Regions from separate parts of the Homo sapiens genome. Here all the other regions are linked to region 1. Evidence: promoter capture Hi-C in 16 types of primary human blood cells and fetal thymus (Javierre and others, 2016). All regions are on one chromosome and are shown on one strand. Each heading gives the region's core, a stretch centred on a gene start or on the middle of the fragment in contact. The rest is flanking DNA. Distances are from core to core; before and after follow the strand shown. Region 1 holds the start of COG4 (component of oligomeric golgi complex 4). Region 2 holds the start of ZNF821 (zinc finger protein 821). Region 3 overlaps AP1G1 (adaptor related protein complex 1 subunit gamma 1). Region 4 has its middle 10 kb from the start of TERF2.

Region 1 (3,634 bases), core at 448-2,947:
ATTGAGACCAGCCTGGCCAACACAGTGAAAACCCCTCTACTAAAAATGCAAAAACTAGCCGGGCGCGGTGGCACACGCCTTTAATCTCAGCTACTCGGGAAGCTGAGGCGTGAGAATAGCTAGAACCAAGGAGGAGGAGGCTGCAGTAAGCCGAGATCAAGCCGCTGCGCTCCAGCCTGGGCGACAGCGAGACTTCGTCTCAAAAACAAAACAAACAAACAAAAAATACATACCAGATAAATTTGGTAAGCTTTAAAACTTCCCCCACGTCTGGGCCGGGCGCGGTGTCTCACACCTGTAATCCCAACACTTTGGGAGGCCAAGGCGGGTGGATCAAGGTCAGGAGATCGAGACCATCCTGGCTAACACAGTGAAACCCCGTCTCTACTAAAAATACAAAAAATTAGCTGGGCGCGGTGGCGGGCGCCTGTAGTTCCAGCTACTCGTGAGGCTGAGGCAGGAGAATGGCGTGAACCCGGAAAGCGGAGCTTGCAGTGAGCAGAGATCGCGCCACTGCACTCCAGCCTGGGCGACAAAGCGAGACACCGTCTCAAAAAAAGAAAAATTAGCCGGGCGTGGTGGCACGCGCCCGTAATCCCAGCTAGTCTACTCGGGAGGCTGAGGTAAGAGAATCGCTGGAACCCGGGAGGCAGAGATGGCAGTGAGCCGAGATCGCGCCACTGCTCTCCAGTCTGGGCGACAGACTGTGACTCCGTCACAAAAACAAAACAAAACAAAACAAAAAAAACTTCCCCCACGTCTGTTTACCATTATTACAAAAAGCTTGTATGATTGCTCACTGCATCTTCTCCATCCTCCAAGGAAACATCATCGCATTTAAACTCTGTCCTCCATTACGCAAACGAGAAAATAGAGGTTCAGAGGAGGAGACAAGTTGCCCAACTACCAAAATACAAATTCAAACCGGAGTCTTGGCTCTAAAGACTGTTTCCGTTATTTACGCTTTTAACACGCTCCATCTTTCTATCTTCCCCTCGGTGTACCATTTACTCTACCCAGAGGGAGACATCCATGCCTCCCGCTGCTTGTCACACCTCCCCCGTCTCAGAGTCCCCAGAAGTTAAAAGCAATCTCCACGAGCCCTATTTTGAGATAGAATATGTTCCCACACTGTGGATGGAAGCGAGAGATAACTGCAGGAAGCCGTTTTGGCGCCTCAACCATCCCTCGGTACCTCCTCCTGGTCCCCAGCCTCTCGGGCCTAGACTGCCCGTGACCCCCGCCAAAGTCTCGGGTCCCCCTTCCATATGGCCGGTCTCCGCCTCCCCGGGCCCGGGGAAGTCTCCAGGCTGTTTTTTTACCCTGCAGCGAGAAGGATGGTGTGGATATCCAACGGATGCTACCTCCCTTCAAAACTTAAGCCACCACCAACTCCAACATACTGGCGTCCGCCATTAGACCTCAAGACAGGGACATTCTGGTGGCGCGCGGCGGAAAAAGGCACCCAATCCGCGCCTGAAGAATATATATAATTTTTAAAAAATGCTTCCGTCTTGCTTCCACACGGCATTACAAATTATTTAAACATGCTTTATTGCTTTGCTTTTTCCAGGAGAATAGAAAATTAATACGTTTTTAGAAGTAGACTTTAAAAAAAAAAAACCATTAGAGTTCATTGGGCACTTCTGTGGGCAGCCCCAAATAGGCGCCAACGAAGAGGGGGCCTCGCGGGACCGGAAGTGCCGAATGGGGACCAAGATGGCGGACCTTGATTCGCCTCCGAAGCTGTCAGGGGTGCAGCAGCCGTCTGAGGGGGTGGGAGGTGGCCGCTGCTCCGAAATCTCCGCTGAGCTCATTCGCTCCCTGACAGAGCTGCAGGAGCTGGAGGCTGTATACGAACGGCTCTGCGGCGAGGAGGTGCGGGGTCGAGCCTCTTCTTTTTCATGGAGGATCTAGGGAGAGTGGGAGCCTTCAGTCGGGAAATCCGGGCTGTGGGAAACTCTCCTTGCTGGGGGATACAAAAAAGCGGGAAAACAAAGAAGCGGAAGCTAGTCGGGTATATGAGTAGTCCTGTCAACTCTTTTCACGCTGTCGGACGCGCCGAGCTTGTCTTCCCTGATACCTGGGCGATCTGCAGCCTCTCCTCCCTAGACCCCCGTTGATTTCCCTGATCCATGATCACCAGTTTCTCCACGGGAGTAAAGTTAGTCTGAGAGTATTTGCCAAATTGCTTGGTTCTCAAAATAATAAGCGCCCTTTTGCATTGGCTTAATTTACAAATTATGAAACGCTCTCATCCTGTTATTTAAGAGGGAAGCCTTTGCAGATTAACTTCTTGAAGCGTTTTAAGACTTCCTCTTGTGGGGAGTGATTTGGGGGTGTGATTTTAGCGTTTTGGTCAAATGCACATCTTTGTAGAGGTTTAGCTTTTAAGACTCAGACACAATTCTCTAATCTTGGACAAGTCACTTCATCTCTGGTACCCTTGATATTTTATCAAATGAGGGGTGTGGACTATTCTCCAATTCCTTTCAGTTCATAACGTTCTATTTCCTGCCTCCTTTAATTTTCAGTGGCAACTCGATGCTGTCAATTCACTTTCGAATGTCAGTTGGGTTCCTTGCTAGTCAAAAGAGATCTAAGCTCTAAGCTTGTCAGCTGTTTCCCAGACCAAACTTCTAGCAAAGTTGAGCACAAAAGGCAGTTTCAGCCTGAGGGAGAGGTGATCGTTGATATCTTTGAGTATTTTCAAGTATAAACTTGCACTAACTCTAGCAGTTTCTGATACGTTTTTCAGCAAGATGTGTGTGGTGTTTTTTGTTTTGTTTTGTTATTTTTAGAAACAGGGCCGCTCTCTGTTGCGCAGGCTGGAGTGCTGTTGTGCTGCAATCAGAATGGATGAAACCAGAGGCGCACACCACCGTGCCTGGCTAGTTTAGTGTGTGGGGCTTTTTTTGTCTGGCCTCAGCAAGATGTGTTTTAAAATTTAGTATCTTGCGGGGCGCGGTGGCTCACGCCTGCCATCCCAGCACTTTGGGAGGCCAAGACGGGAGGATCACCTGAGTCAGGAGTTCGAGACCAGCATGACCAAAATGGTGAAAACCATCACTACTAAAAATACAAAACTAGCCGGGTGTGGTGACGCATGCCTGTAATCCCAGCTACTCGGGAGGCTGAGGCAGGAGAATTGCTTGAACCTGGGAGGCGGAGGTTGCAGTGAACCAAGATAGCGCCATTACACTCTAGCCTGGGCAACAAGAGCAAAATTGTGTCTCTTAAAAAAAAAAAAAGCCTGGCGCGGTGGCTCACTCCTGTAACCCCAGCACTTTGGGAGGCTGAGGCAGATGGATCACGAGGTCAGGAAATCGAGACCATCCTGGCTAACACAGTGAAACCCCGTCTCTACTAAAAATACAAAAAATTAGCCGGGCGTGGTGGCGGGCGCCTGTAGTCCCAGCTACTCGGGAGGCTGAGGCAGGAGAATGGCGTGAACCAGGGAGAAGGAGCTTGCAGTGAGCCGAGATCGCACCACTGCACTCCAGCCTCGGCGACAGAGTGAGACTCTGTCTCAAAAAAAAAAAAAAAAAAAATTTAGTATCTTGACTTAACATTCCTAAGCTCGCATTCATTCAGTCATTTAATATGTTGGGTGGAAAATTATGGAAATCTTACA
Region 2 (3,634 bases), core at 683-3,182, 1.4 Mb before region 1:
ATGGAATAAGCTGCCCAACATTACATAATAATAATGCATCCAAGAAATTTCACTGGAGGCAAACTTTACCTGTTTGCTACTTTTCTGTTGAAAATGTCAACTAAGTCAGCTTTAAAGTGACATAATAAAGCCATACTTGTATCCCTCAGTCCAAACTGATCAAGAATTACTGTTAAATATAAAAGCCAGTGTGTATTCTAGGTTGTATTCTTACACAAAATAGTACAAACACTTGCGGGTTGGATGATAATATTCCATTTTCTGTCTACTTGGAAACTAAGTTTTTAAATGAAATTAAAATGTTTCCTTGACTGAAGTTAAACAACAATAATTGCTATCTAAGTATCCTAATCACAATAAATAAATGAGTGAATGATGAATGAGCTATTTATCACAGAATTGTGAAGGACCAAGATCCCTCAATGTAATCATTCTATTACATTGAACACAAGATGCAGACAATGAGATCATCTCATAAAAGATTTAGGGGAAAGACAATTTGCAAGAATGTTCTATGCAAATACCAGGACTTGTCACTTTATCAGCAAATGACAGCATCCTCGTTAGCCCTGCCTTTGTGCAGCCAGTAATCACGAAAAACATTTGCATGATGCTTTTAGCCATTTGTTTTACTTAACTGGCACAACAACCCTCGGAGAGTAAAGGCCAGGAATTATTGCATCATTATCCATTTGACATCTTAGGAAGCAGAGGCTCAGAACAGGGAAGTGACTTGCCCAAAGTCAACAGGCTGGTGGGTGGCAGAGCTGGGGCTCAAAGCCAGATCTTCTAATACCAGATCTCATCTTCTTTCCTCTGCATTCCCTGCTTCTCCAGGTAAGCGATGCCAGGGCAGGCTCAGGCATTCTAGAAGAGAGGAAGAAAAGAAGGCAACAGGAACTAGGAGAGAGAAGGACGTGGACAGGAGGAGGTGTTTGACTAGAAGTGCGTCCAACCAGGCCGGGCACAGTGGCTTACGCCTGTAATCCCAGCACTTTGAGAGGCCGAGGCGGGAGGATCACCTGAGGTCAGGAGTTCGGGACCAGCCTGGCCAACATGGTGAAACCCCGTCTACTAAAAATACAAAAATTAGCTGGGCGTGGTGGTGCACGCCTGTAGTCCCAGCTACTCGGGAGGCTGAAGCACGAGAATCGCTTGAACCTGGGAGGCGCAGGTTGCAGTGAGCGAAGATCGCGCCATTGCATTGCAGCCTGGGTGACAGAGCGAGACTCTGTCTCAAAAAAAAAAAAAAAAAAAAGGTCCAACGGCTCTCCATTGCCCCCAAACATCCCTCAAGTGACAACAGTGCCACAAGTTCCCCTGCCCCTGGGTCTGCAGCCAATGTTATTTTATCAGTTGAGAATCATGTCAGAAAATTAAATACTCAAAAGAAATCTCAAGATTTCCCAGCTCTGAGGTTCTGACAGCTGAACTTGGCCCCTCCCACCAAGGCCCGTGGTCACATTCAAAGCCTCGGGAGCCGAAGCCACCGCGAAGCGTGGGGGAATGAGGCGAAGAGGGTTTGTGACGGTGGTGGGGATCCGGGCTAAGGAGAGGGGGTGCCTGCGGCGGAGCTGTGGTTGGGGGTTGTGGGTTTTGTGGCTGAACTCGATGGTGGGGTAAGAAACCAGGATCGGGGCTGGGTAGGGTGGCGTTTACACGTCCAGGAAGGTCTGGGGGAGCTGAGCGGCTGAGACAGCCAGAGAAAGACCCGGGAATGGGCGAGGCGGGGGGTTCCGGAGCCCTGGAACGCGGGCGAGCCCCTCTCGGGCGCCCGGGATTGGGCGCTCCCCGGAGCCCCTCCTCTCCAGAGCCCCTCTCCTCAGGCCCCGCCCACAACGCCAGGCGCGCGCCGGGCCGCGGGGAAGGGGACCTGGCCGGCGCGGGGGAGGGGGAGAGGGAGGCTCGTGCACGCGCCTCACTAGCTGCGGGTGCGCGAGCCGCGCGCTCCCGCCGCCCGCGTCGCCATCTTTTTCCCCCTCCGTCTGTCTGTCTGCTGTTGGCTTTGTCCGTCTGCAGCGCCGCCCCTCGGCTCCCCGCCACCGGCTCGGCTCGGCCCGGAGCCCCTTCCGCTCGCCGGGGCCCAGTCCCGGAGCGCCCCGGCCCGGCTGGCTTGGGCTGCGGTCCCGGGTCCATTGTCCGGCGGTCCGTCTGTCCGGAGGCGGGGCCCAGGGACCCAGAGCGCAGCGCAGCGCCGAGGCGCCGGGTAAAAAGACCCCCTGCCCTCCCTCCGGGTCCGGGCTGGGGATGCGGGCTCCTCGCCCCCTCGCGGCCGCCGGCTGTTGGTCCTTTTGTCTGCACTGGGGAGAGGGCCGGGGGCCAGCTCCGGCCTAGGGGGGCAGCCCGGGCTCACCCTCCCCGCTTCCAACCCCAATTCCTCCCCGGCCGCTCCTCCTGCTGCCCCTTGGCGCTCTCGGGCGCGGGGCGCGGGGTGCGGGGCCGGGGGGCTTTTGCGCGGGCCGCGGGCACCCCGCCTCCTCGGGCCCCGGCGGGGACGGCCCCGGCGTCTGACAGCCTTGGGTGGAGCTGGGGGAGGGGAGGATGGGCGTGGGCGTGCAGACCGGGGGGTATCAGTCCCCGCGTCTGGGTCTCGCAGAAAAGCTTCTAAATTTAGATTTCGGAGATTGTGTTGTCTAAGGGTTTGTCTGAGCCGCCTCGGAAGACCTCCGGCTCTTGTCAGGCTCTTGTCTGGTAATTCCTGGGAATTTACCTGGGCTCATGCTTGAAGAAGCAGAGGGACCATCTCGGCTGATTAGACACGCCCCAGACCCAACCCCAGGGGTCAGGTGAACAGCCAGGCGGCTAAGTGACCAGCTTTCTTGTCCTCTCCTTTTTGGCAGATACAGATCACTTGGATTCAGTCGAGTTTGCTTTGCTCCGTGGGAACTGCACCAGAGCTGGAGGTGGGAACGCACTCTCTTTTCATCAAGCTGAGATTTCACTCGTTTTTTTTCTTGCCAAAGTCTGTGGTGTGCCCTAGACGCTGCAACCTAATACCTGTGGGAGAGCAGAGACAGTGTTCAGGGGAGACGTTGCACCTTCCCGAGGACTCTTAACCTTGCTCTGAAGACAGACAGAACTGCTTTCCTTTTAAAATGGAATCCCTTTAGACCTGAATCTCACCGTTTACCTGTCTTCCCAGCCCATGTTCAGGCAGCTATCTATTTACATTTTTGGTTTGGTTTGGTTTCAGGTTTTGGCTTGGAAATTGAGGCAGTGTTAAAAGTAAAACAAAATGAGTGACCTTTAGGGCTGTATGTCTCTGGGTTTTATTAGCTTTAACTGCCTATAAAACAAGTCATCTGGCCTCTGAGATCTTGCTTTGTGGTCAAGAGTGTCCTTTCAGCGCCATTTATTTATTTACTTATTGATTTTCAACAGCCCATGACCCCACAGGCCTGTTTTTGTGGGTGTTTTTGTTATTATTTTCGTTTCGTTGTGTGGGAGGGGACTGTAATTGCTTATTTTTCTCTTGATCACTCAGGTGTGAAGTCCCATTGGGTACCATCTGGTCAGTTCCCCATTTGGCCACTAGGAGGATTATAAGATGCAGCGGGCATTGCTGATTTAAATACGCAGACACTCATCTCTGTCTTTTGACTTGGAGCTTTAATATTGAAATGTTGTCTGGTTC
Region 3 (3,634 bases), core at 580-3,079, 1.3 Mb before region 1:
GACTGCCCAACTGAAAGAAAGAATGTGCAACACTATCAGGAAAGATAGTCATCAGCTTATTTACTGTTTAGGTCAGTAATTTCAGTGGAAGGAGATCTCCTGCCCCCAAGTTAAAACAAAAAAGTACTGGGATTTAATCTTATCAGACTGACTTGGGTTTTATGGTCATCTTGGGGTTTGGAGTGGGGTCAACATCTTTAGAAATACATGATCAAGAGTGGGAGTCCATTAATTTCCCAAAGAAAAATTGATGTGTTAGTATCAGAGGAAAGGGGACTGGATCAAAAGAAAAGGAGCCAGGCAGAAGCAACTGCTGGGTCATCAATATAGTCATATATTTGGTTTGGGACAGAATTAGTGTCATAATAGCATTCTTCTCTTTCACATGAATAGTTTCTAAAAATATAATATGTTCTTTGAAATATATTTCATATTTCATTCGTAGAGTGTTAGGAGTGGAATGAAACCCTGAGGCTCTGATGTTTCAGTTATAAGCTTTACCACATCAAAAATTGATCCAGGTGGTTATCCATATACTGTGTGTCATAGTATAAAGCAAATAGATGCCTACGTGTTCTTGTTGATCGGTTGATTGATTTTAAGTATTAGGTTAGATTTACAGAAATCTGATATATTAGAAATTGGGCTATAAAAAAGTCTAGTGAGGGAGAAGACTCTTAATTCCTCAGCGATAAGCATTATTAACATTTTGGAAGCAGTACATTTACATATTCCCAAGGAAGTTCTTTAAGAGCATATTCTTTTTTTGTTGTTTTTAGAGGCAGGGTCTTGCTCTATGGCCCATGCTGTGGCTCTGTGATGGCTCACTGTCACCTCAACCTACTGGGCTCAAGTTCTCCTACCTCAGCCTCTCGAGTCACTGGGACTGCAGGTGCATGGCACCACACCCAGCTAATTTTTTTTTTTTTTTTTTTTTTTTTTGAGACAGAGTCTCGCTGTGTTGCCCAGGCTGGAGTCCAGTGGCGTGATCTCGGCTCACTTCAACCTCCACCTACTGGGTTCAAAAGATTCTTCTGCCTCAGCCTCCCGAGTAGCTGGGACTACAGGTGTGTGCCACCACACCCGGCTAATTTTTGTATTTTTAGTAGAGACGGAATGTTACCATATTGGCCAGGCTGGTCTCGAATTCCTGACCTCGTTATCTGTCTGTCTCGGCCTCCTAAAGTTCTGGGATTACAGAAGTGAGCCACTGTGCCCGGGCCCAGCTAATTTTTTGAGACGGGATCTCACTCTGTTGCCCAGGCTGGATTGTGCAGTGGACACCTCAGGCTTACTTTCTACTGGGCTCACTGCAGCCTCGACCTTCTGGGAACCACACCCGGCTAATTTTTGTATTTTTTATAGAGACAGGGCTTTGCTGTGTTGCTCAGGCTCATTTTGAACTCTTGAGCTCAAGCAATCCATGTGTCTTGGCCTCTCAAAGTACTGAGATTACAGGCGTGCACTATTGTGCCCGGTCAGCTAATTAAAAAAAAAATTTGGGCTGGGTGCGGTGGCTCACGCCTGTACACCCAGAACTTTGGGAGGCCGAGGTGGGTGGATCATGAGGTCAAGAGATAGAGGCTATCCTGGCCAACATGGTGGAACCCCCTCTCTACTAAAAATACAAAAATTAGCTGGGCATGGTGGTGCGTGCCTGTAGTCCCAGCTACTCAGGAGGCTGAAGCAGGAGAATCGTTTGAATCCGGGAGGTACAGGTTGCAGTGAGCTGAGATCGTGCCACTGTACTCCAGCCTGGCAACAGAATGAGACTCTTTCTCAAAAAAAAAAAATTTTTGTTGAGTTGGATTTCTGCCACAGTTCCCTGGTTGGTGTTGAACTCCTGGGCTCAAGTGATCTTTGGGCCTCAACCTCCCAAAGTGCTGTGATTATAGGTGTAAGCCACAGTCCCTGGACTAAGGGCAAATTCTTGAATTTGGAATCAGAGTAGATTTAAGACTTTGGGGGATATTTCATTTTGTAAAAAATCTCTCTATATTTTCTAAGATTCATTTCTTTAATATGTTTAAATAGAATGTGCTTTTAAGGTTAGGTGGCATTTGGGGGTATTTTGGGACTTAATTATTTGATAAAATATTTAATTCTTAGAAAGTAAATGCTCGAGAAAACTGTGCTAAAATTTTATCATAAAATATTTTTCTGAATGGGACTGGGAATCATAATTTTAAGTTCTTATTCTGTTTCCTCTGTTTCAATGAGTCACCATCTTGTTCATATCAGTAATTTGGTACCCCATCCGTTGGAATTACCTTTATAATATGCCTTTAAAAGGTTCATATCTAGATTTTGTCACCTGCACGTATGATCACAGTGCCATTTTCATTTAGTGTATAATAATAGCCACTTTTTTTTTTCTTTGAGATGGAGTCTCGCCCTGTTGCCCAGGCTGGAGTGCAATGGTGTGATCTCAGCTCACTGCAAACTCTGCCTCCTGGGTTCACGCCATTCTCCTTCCTCAGCCTCCCTAGTAGCTGGGACTACAGGCGCCTGCCACCATGCCTGGCTAATTTTTTTGTGTTTTTAGTAGAGACGGGATTTCACTGTGTTAGCCAGGGTGGTCTCGATCTGACCTCGTGATCTGCCCGCCTCGGCCTCCCAAAGTGCTGGGATTACAGGCGTGAGCCACCATTCCCAGCCCACTTTTTTTTTTTTTTTTTTTTTTTTGAGGCAGGGTTTCGCTCTTGTCACTCAGGCTGGAGTACAATGGCACAATCTTGGCTCATTGCAGCCTTCACTACCCAGGTTCAAGCGATTCTCCTGCCTCAGCCTCCTGAGTAGCTGGGCTACAGGCACCTGCCACCACACCCGGCTAATTTTTGTATTTTTGGTAGAGACAGGGTTTCACCATGTTGTCCAGACTAGTCTTGAACTCCTGACCTCAAATGATCCACCGTCTTGGCCTCCCAAAGTGCTGGAATTACAGGTGTGAGCCACCACACCCAGCCTAGTTATTGGAAGACTTTTAAATATGTTTTAAACAACTTGGGTATGTGAGTCTACTTTATAAATAGTAAATTTTATGAAATCTAAATACAGTTCAGCTATTTCTTTTTTTTTCTTTTTAGTTTAGCTATTTCTGATGAAAATGTACAAATTGAGATGTGCTGTAAGTGTAAAGTACATACTGTATATAGAAGCTTTAGTGCAAAAGCAAGTGTAAAATACCTAATTATAATTTTTGTGTTGATCATACGTTGAAATGATATTTTAGATATATTGATTAAAGAATATTATTAAAACTAATTTCACCTTTTTAAAACTTTTTACTACAGTATCTAGTATGGTGCTGATAGAAATAAAACACAAGCTACATAGAAATTTAAAAATTTCTAGTAGCTATATTTTAAAAGTCTTAAGTTTTGCAATAAAACTTAAGGGGTAGGATGGACACGGTGACTTACGCCTGTAATCCTGGCACTTTGGGAGGCCAAGGTAGGGGGATCACCTGAAGTCAGGAGTTTGAGACCATCCTGGCCAACATGGTGAAACTCTGTCTCTACTAAAAATACAAAAATTAGCCAGGCGTGATGGTGGGTGCCTGTAATCCCAGCTACTTGGGAGGCTGAGGCAGGAGAATCACTTGAACCTGGAAGGTGGAGGTTGCAGTGAGCCG
Region 4 (3,634 bases), core at 314-2,813, 1.1 Mb after region 1:
AGAGGGGCAGCCACTAGAGCAAATCAAAGCAATGCCCTTGACTGAGGATAAAGGAAGTGAGTCAGTGTTTGGGAGAAAACAATAAATAAACTGGTGGGGAACCGGGGTGTGCGGCAGAATAAGATCATGTGAAACCCTTCCTGTGATTATAGTTTTATGAAAATATTAAACTATCTATTGAAATTCATTTTGGAACAGAATGAAAATCTTGGAGACTGGATCCTGGAAACTTTTTAACAAATGCCCCCACATGATTGATTGCCTGTCTTGGCTGTCTTGATTTGCCTGTTCTGAGGTCTAGCCTCCATCTCATCTCTCCTTCCCTGGAACCTTGCCCCAGCTTTTGGGACTTGGGGGCTGGGGCCTGTTTGCATCATTCTTTCCTGAAGACATTCTAATATGATCAAAAGATAACTATGGGCTGGGTGGGATGGCTCACACCTGTAGTCCCAGCTACTTGGGAGGCTGAGGTGGGAGGATATCTTCAGCCTGGGAAGTCCAAGTCTGCAGTGAGCCATGACCGAGCCACTGCACTCCAGCCTGGGCAGCAGAGCAAGCTCTTGTCTCAAAGAAGATAACCAGCCAGGCGCGGGGGCTCACACCTGTAATCCCAACACTTTGGGAGGTTGAGTCGGGCGGATCATGAGGTCAGGAGATCAAGACCATCCTGGCTAACACGGTGAAACCCCATCTCTACTAAAAATACAAAAAATTAGCCAGGCATGGTGGCAGACGCCTGTAGTCCCAGCTACTCAGGAGGCTGAGGCAGGAGAATGACGTGAACCTGGGAGGCAGAGCTTGCATTGAGCCGAGATCACGCCTGCACTCCAGCCTGGGTGACAGAGCGAGACTCCGTCTCAAAAAAAAAAAAAAAAGACAACTATGTCAGGGGAAGAATACATTTCTTATAAAAATATAGGAAATGAATCTTTTGGTGCTGGGAGATTCTGAATAATTTGAGAAGGGGTGTCTACACCCCAGAAATGTGGCTGTATGTATGATTCTTATATTGCTTAAGCTTTATTAAACAATATTATTAACTCATATTTTAACAAGTCTTTCCAGTTGCCAGGTCCCATGCTAAGCAATTTGATAATGTATTATATCATTTAACCCTCACAGCAATTAACAGTCTTAGAGGTCTTTGGTATCCCCATCTTACAGATGAGGAATCCCAAAGTACTGGGATTACATGCATGAGCCACCACGCCCGGCCGATATATATATATTATAAAAGTAATAGATTAGTGCATTCTCAGAAGAGCCCTCTCGCTAGAATAGCCAGAGCTCTCTGACCTTCTCAAGGCTCCTCCTAGTGAGAAAGACTGAGCAGCAAGAACAGAGACTTGTTGTGGTTAAATGTTAACTTGTGTTTATTTCTCTACAACTGCCTGTTGTTTAATTTGGCCAACCCAGTGCAGATTCTTTCGTAAGCCTGTATGTAATTTCTGAACACCAGACCTACGACCTTTACACACATGCTAAACATTTATAGAGTGGGAGCGTTCTTTTTCTCCATCAGTGAGTTAAGTAAATACCAACATCCTCCCCCCTGAAAAAAAGTATTCTTTGATCTACACTAAAGATAAACTGGCAGTAATTCACTGACCAGCTGAGGGTTTTAAAGCAGATTCTTTGATAAGCCAGTTAATTTCAGAGGGCACTGGGGCTTGTTTCTTCCTGATACTGGGTTTTAAGTCATAAAGGCTTAGCATTACAGAAATGGAAAGAGAACTTTTAACATGATCTCATCAAACCCCCTCAATTTAATGGATGAGAAAACTGTGAGCTCCAGAGAGAGAAAAGGCAGTTTAACTCGCAGATGTGTTAACAAAGAGCCATACAGAAATGTTTTGTTACACAACAATTCCTGCGGCATTTTAAGCCTTCTGTGGTTATTGCGTTTTGTTTCCTTTATGATCTGGTGATGCAAGGACAGTATTTGGGCCTGGAAATGGAAACCTGGGGACGCTAATCCTCAGCTTTGTGCTGACGTCAGAGATATTTGAGAATCGTTGCTGCCCCCTGCTGGAAGTTTAAGATTTCATGGTCTCTCAAGATTATATGGAATTTTTGTAATGGTTTAAAAAATTGGAAAAGTAAGCTTTCCTTTGGTCAAAATTTTTAGGCCAGGTGTAGTGGCTCATGCCTGTAATCCCAACAGTTTGGGAGGCTGAGGTGGGAGGATCCATTGAGGCCAGGAGTTTGAGACCAGTCAGGGCAATATAGCAAGACCCCCTCTCTACAAAAAATACATAAAAATAAAATAAAATAAAATTTTGAACCAGCATGAAAGAGTATAAAGAGAAAAGAAAAATCTTCCCTTCCTAGTTCCATTTTCTAGTTCTATTGCTAGCAATTTTTTAACATTCTTTCACAATTTTTTCTATGAATGTATCTATATATATATATATCCATATGTATATAATTTTTATCCACAAGTAGGATAATACTGATACCCTGTTTTGAAACTTGCTTTTCTTTCTTTTTTCTTTTTTTTTGAGACAAAGTCTCGCTCTGTCGCCCAGGCTGGAGTGCAGTGGTGCAATCTCTGCTCACTGCAACCTTCTCCTGGGTTCAAGTGATTCTCCTGCCTCAGCCTCCTGAGTAGCTGGAATTACAGGCGTGTGCCACCACACCTAGCTAATTTCTGTAATTTTAGTAGAGACAAGGTTTCACCATGTTAGCCAGGCTGGTCTCGAACTCCTGGCCTCAAGTGATCTGCCTGCCTCGACCTCCCAAAGTGGTGGGATTGCAGGCACGAGCCACTGCACCTAGCCGAAACTTGCTTTTCTCTTTTTTATTTTCTTCATTTGGAAGAGGTAATACATTCAAAAGATTCCTAAGTTTAAAAAATTGTCTTTTACATCTTTTCAAAGCTGTATGTAGTGACAAACCTCATTCCTTCTGATGGAGGCATAATATTCCATTGCTTGAATGTATCATAAATTATTTATTCAGTCCTCTTTTGATGGATTAAAAAGTACATCTCGGTAAGAATAGGGACTTTATTATAGGTACTTTGTTTTTGCTGTTCCTGATAGTGGGAATATGTCAACAGAATGTGTCTAATGAATGAATAGACATTTGCCAACTCTCTAATATTTGTCCATTTCAAAAATGCTGCATTGTTGGGATCTCAAATCTAAGCAAAAGAAAAAAATTGCTGCCCTGAATATCTTTGTGCCTACATTGTTGGCATAGGATGGAGCTGGGAGAAACCATAGGTTCAAAATACATGTGAATTTTAAGTTTTGATAGATACTGCCAAATTGTTACTTTTGATGAGGAATATAATAATTTGATCATTTCCCTACTTGACAGGGCATCAAAACCAGAATCTCCCAGAGAGTTTAATTTAAAATAGCTCCTTTCTGCGCACCCCCTCCATGCTAATTCAGCAGGTAGGGGAGGAATCAGAATAGATTCCTAGTTCAGCAGTTAGGAGAAGAATCAGAAATATACAAAATTCCCATTGCTGGGGAATCTGTATATATAACGATGCTCCCTCAGGACTGGGAAGGGCCACATAATCTATCCATTTCTTGCCATGTAGTAGCAGATGGGAATGTGCTCATATAGCCTAATCTTAATAGGGTTACTCACATGTTACGCACTCCATGTTTACTGACTG

Evidence for each region. Contacts are between HindIII fragments. The CHiCAGO score rates a contact against its expected background, and 5 or more counts as called.
Region 2: the fragment with the promoter of ZNF821 here is called in contact with the fragment with the promoter of COG4 in region 1 in 3 of 17 cell types (M2 macrophages, M1 macrophages and M0 macrophages); the score reaches 12.1 in M2 macrophages.
Region 3: a contact is called between a fragment that was not itself captured here and the fragment with the promoter of COG4 in region 1, in 1 of 17 cell types (M2 macrophages). The highest score is 5.7, in M2 macrophages.
Region 4: a contact is called between a fragment that was not itself captured here and the fragment with the promoter of COG4 in region 1, in 1 of 17 cell types (fetal thymus). The highest score is 5.5, in fetal thymus.

Annotation. Positions count from the first base shown.
Region 1 is chr16:70,521,617-70,525,250 of GRCh38, reverse strand. It overlaps COG4 (component of oligomeric golgi complex 4), which reads left to right and starts at 1,697. Exons shown (of 19, transcript NM_015386.3): 1 at 1,697-1,878. The coding sequence starts at 1,708. SF3B3 (splicing factor 3b subunit 3) reads right to left here and starts at 1,435. Exons shown (of 26, transcript NM_012426.5): 1 at 1,323-1,435. RefSeq lists enhancers at 154-891, 1,925-2,064. The HindIII fragment of the contact is 1,828 bases long and covers 786-2,613 here.
Region 2 is chr16:71,882,480-71,886,113 of GRCh38, reverse strand. It overlaps ZNF821 (zinc finger protein 821), which reads left to right and starts at 1,932. Exons shown (of 8, transcript NM_001201552.2): 1 at 1,932-2,206; 2 at 2,841-2,903. RefSeq lists enhancers at 566-1,066, 2,907-3,106 and silencers at 1,647-2,406, 2,427-2,546. The HindIII fragment of the contact is 5,845 bases long and covers 1-2,603 here.
Region 3 is chr16:71,784,627-71,788,260 of GRCh38, reverse strand. All of the region lies in intron 2 of AP1G1 (adaptor related protein complex 1 subunit gamma 1), which reads left to right. Among named protein-coding and RNA genes, the nearest start is that of AP1G1, 22 kb to the left of the region's middle. The HindIII fragment of the contact is 2,663 bases long and covers 498-3,160 here.
Region 4 is chr16:69,394,603-69,398,236 of GRCh38, reverse strand. No RefSeq gene overlaps it. Among named protein-coding and RNA genes, the nearest start is that of TERF2, 10 kb to the right of the region's middle. The HindIII fragment of the contact is 1,086 bases long and covers 1,021-2,106 here.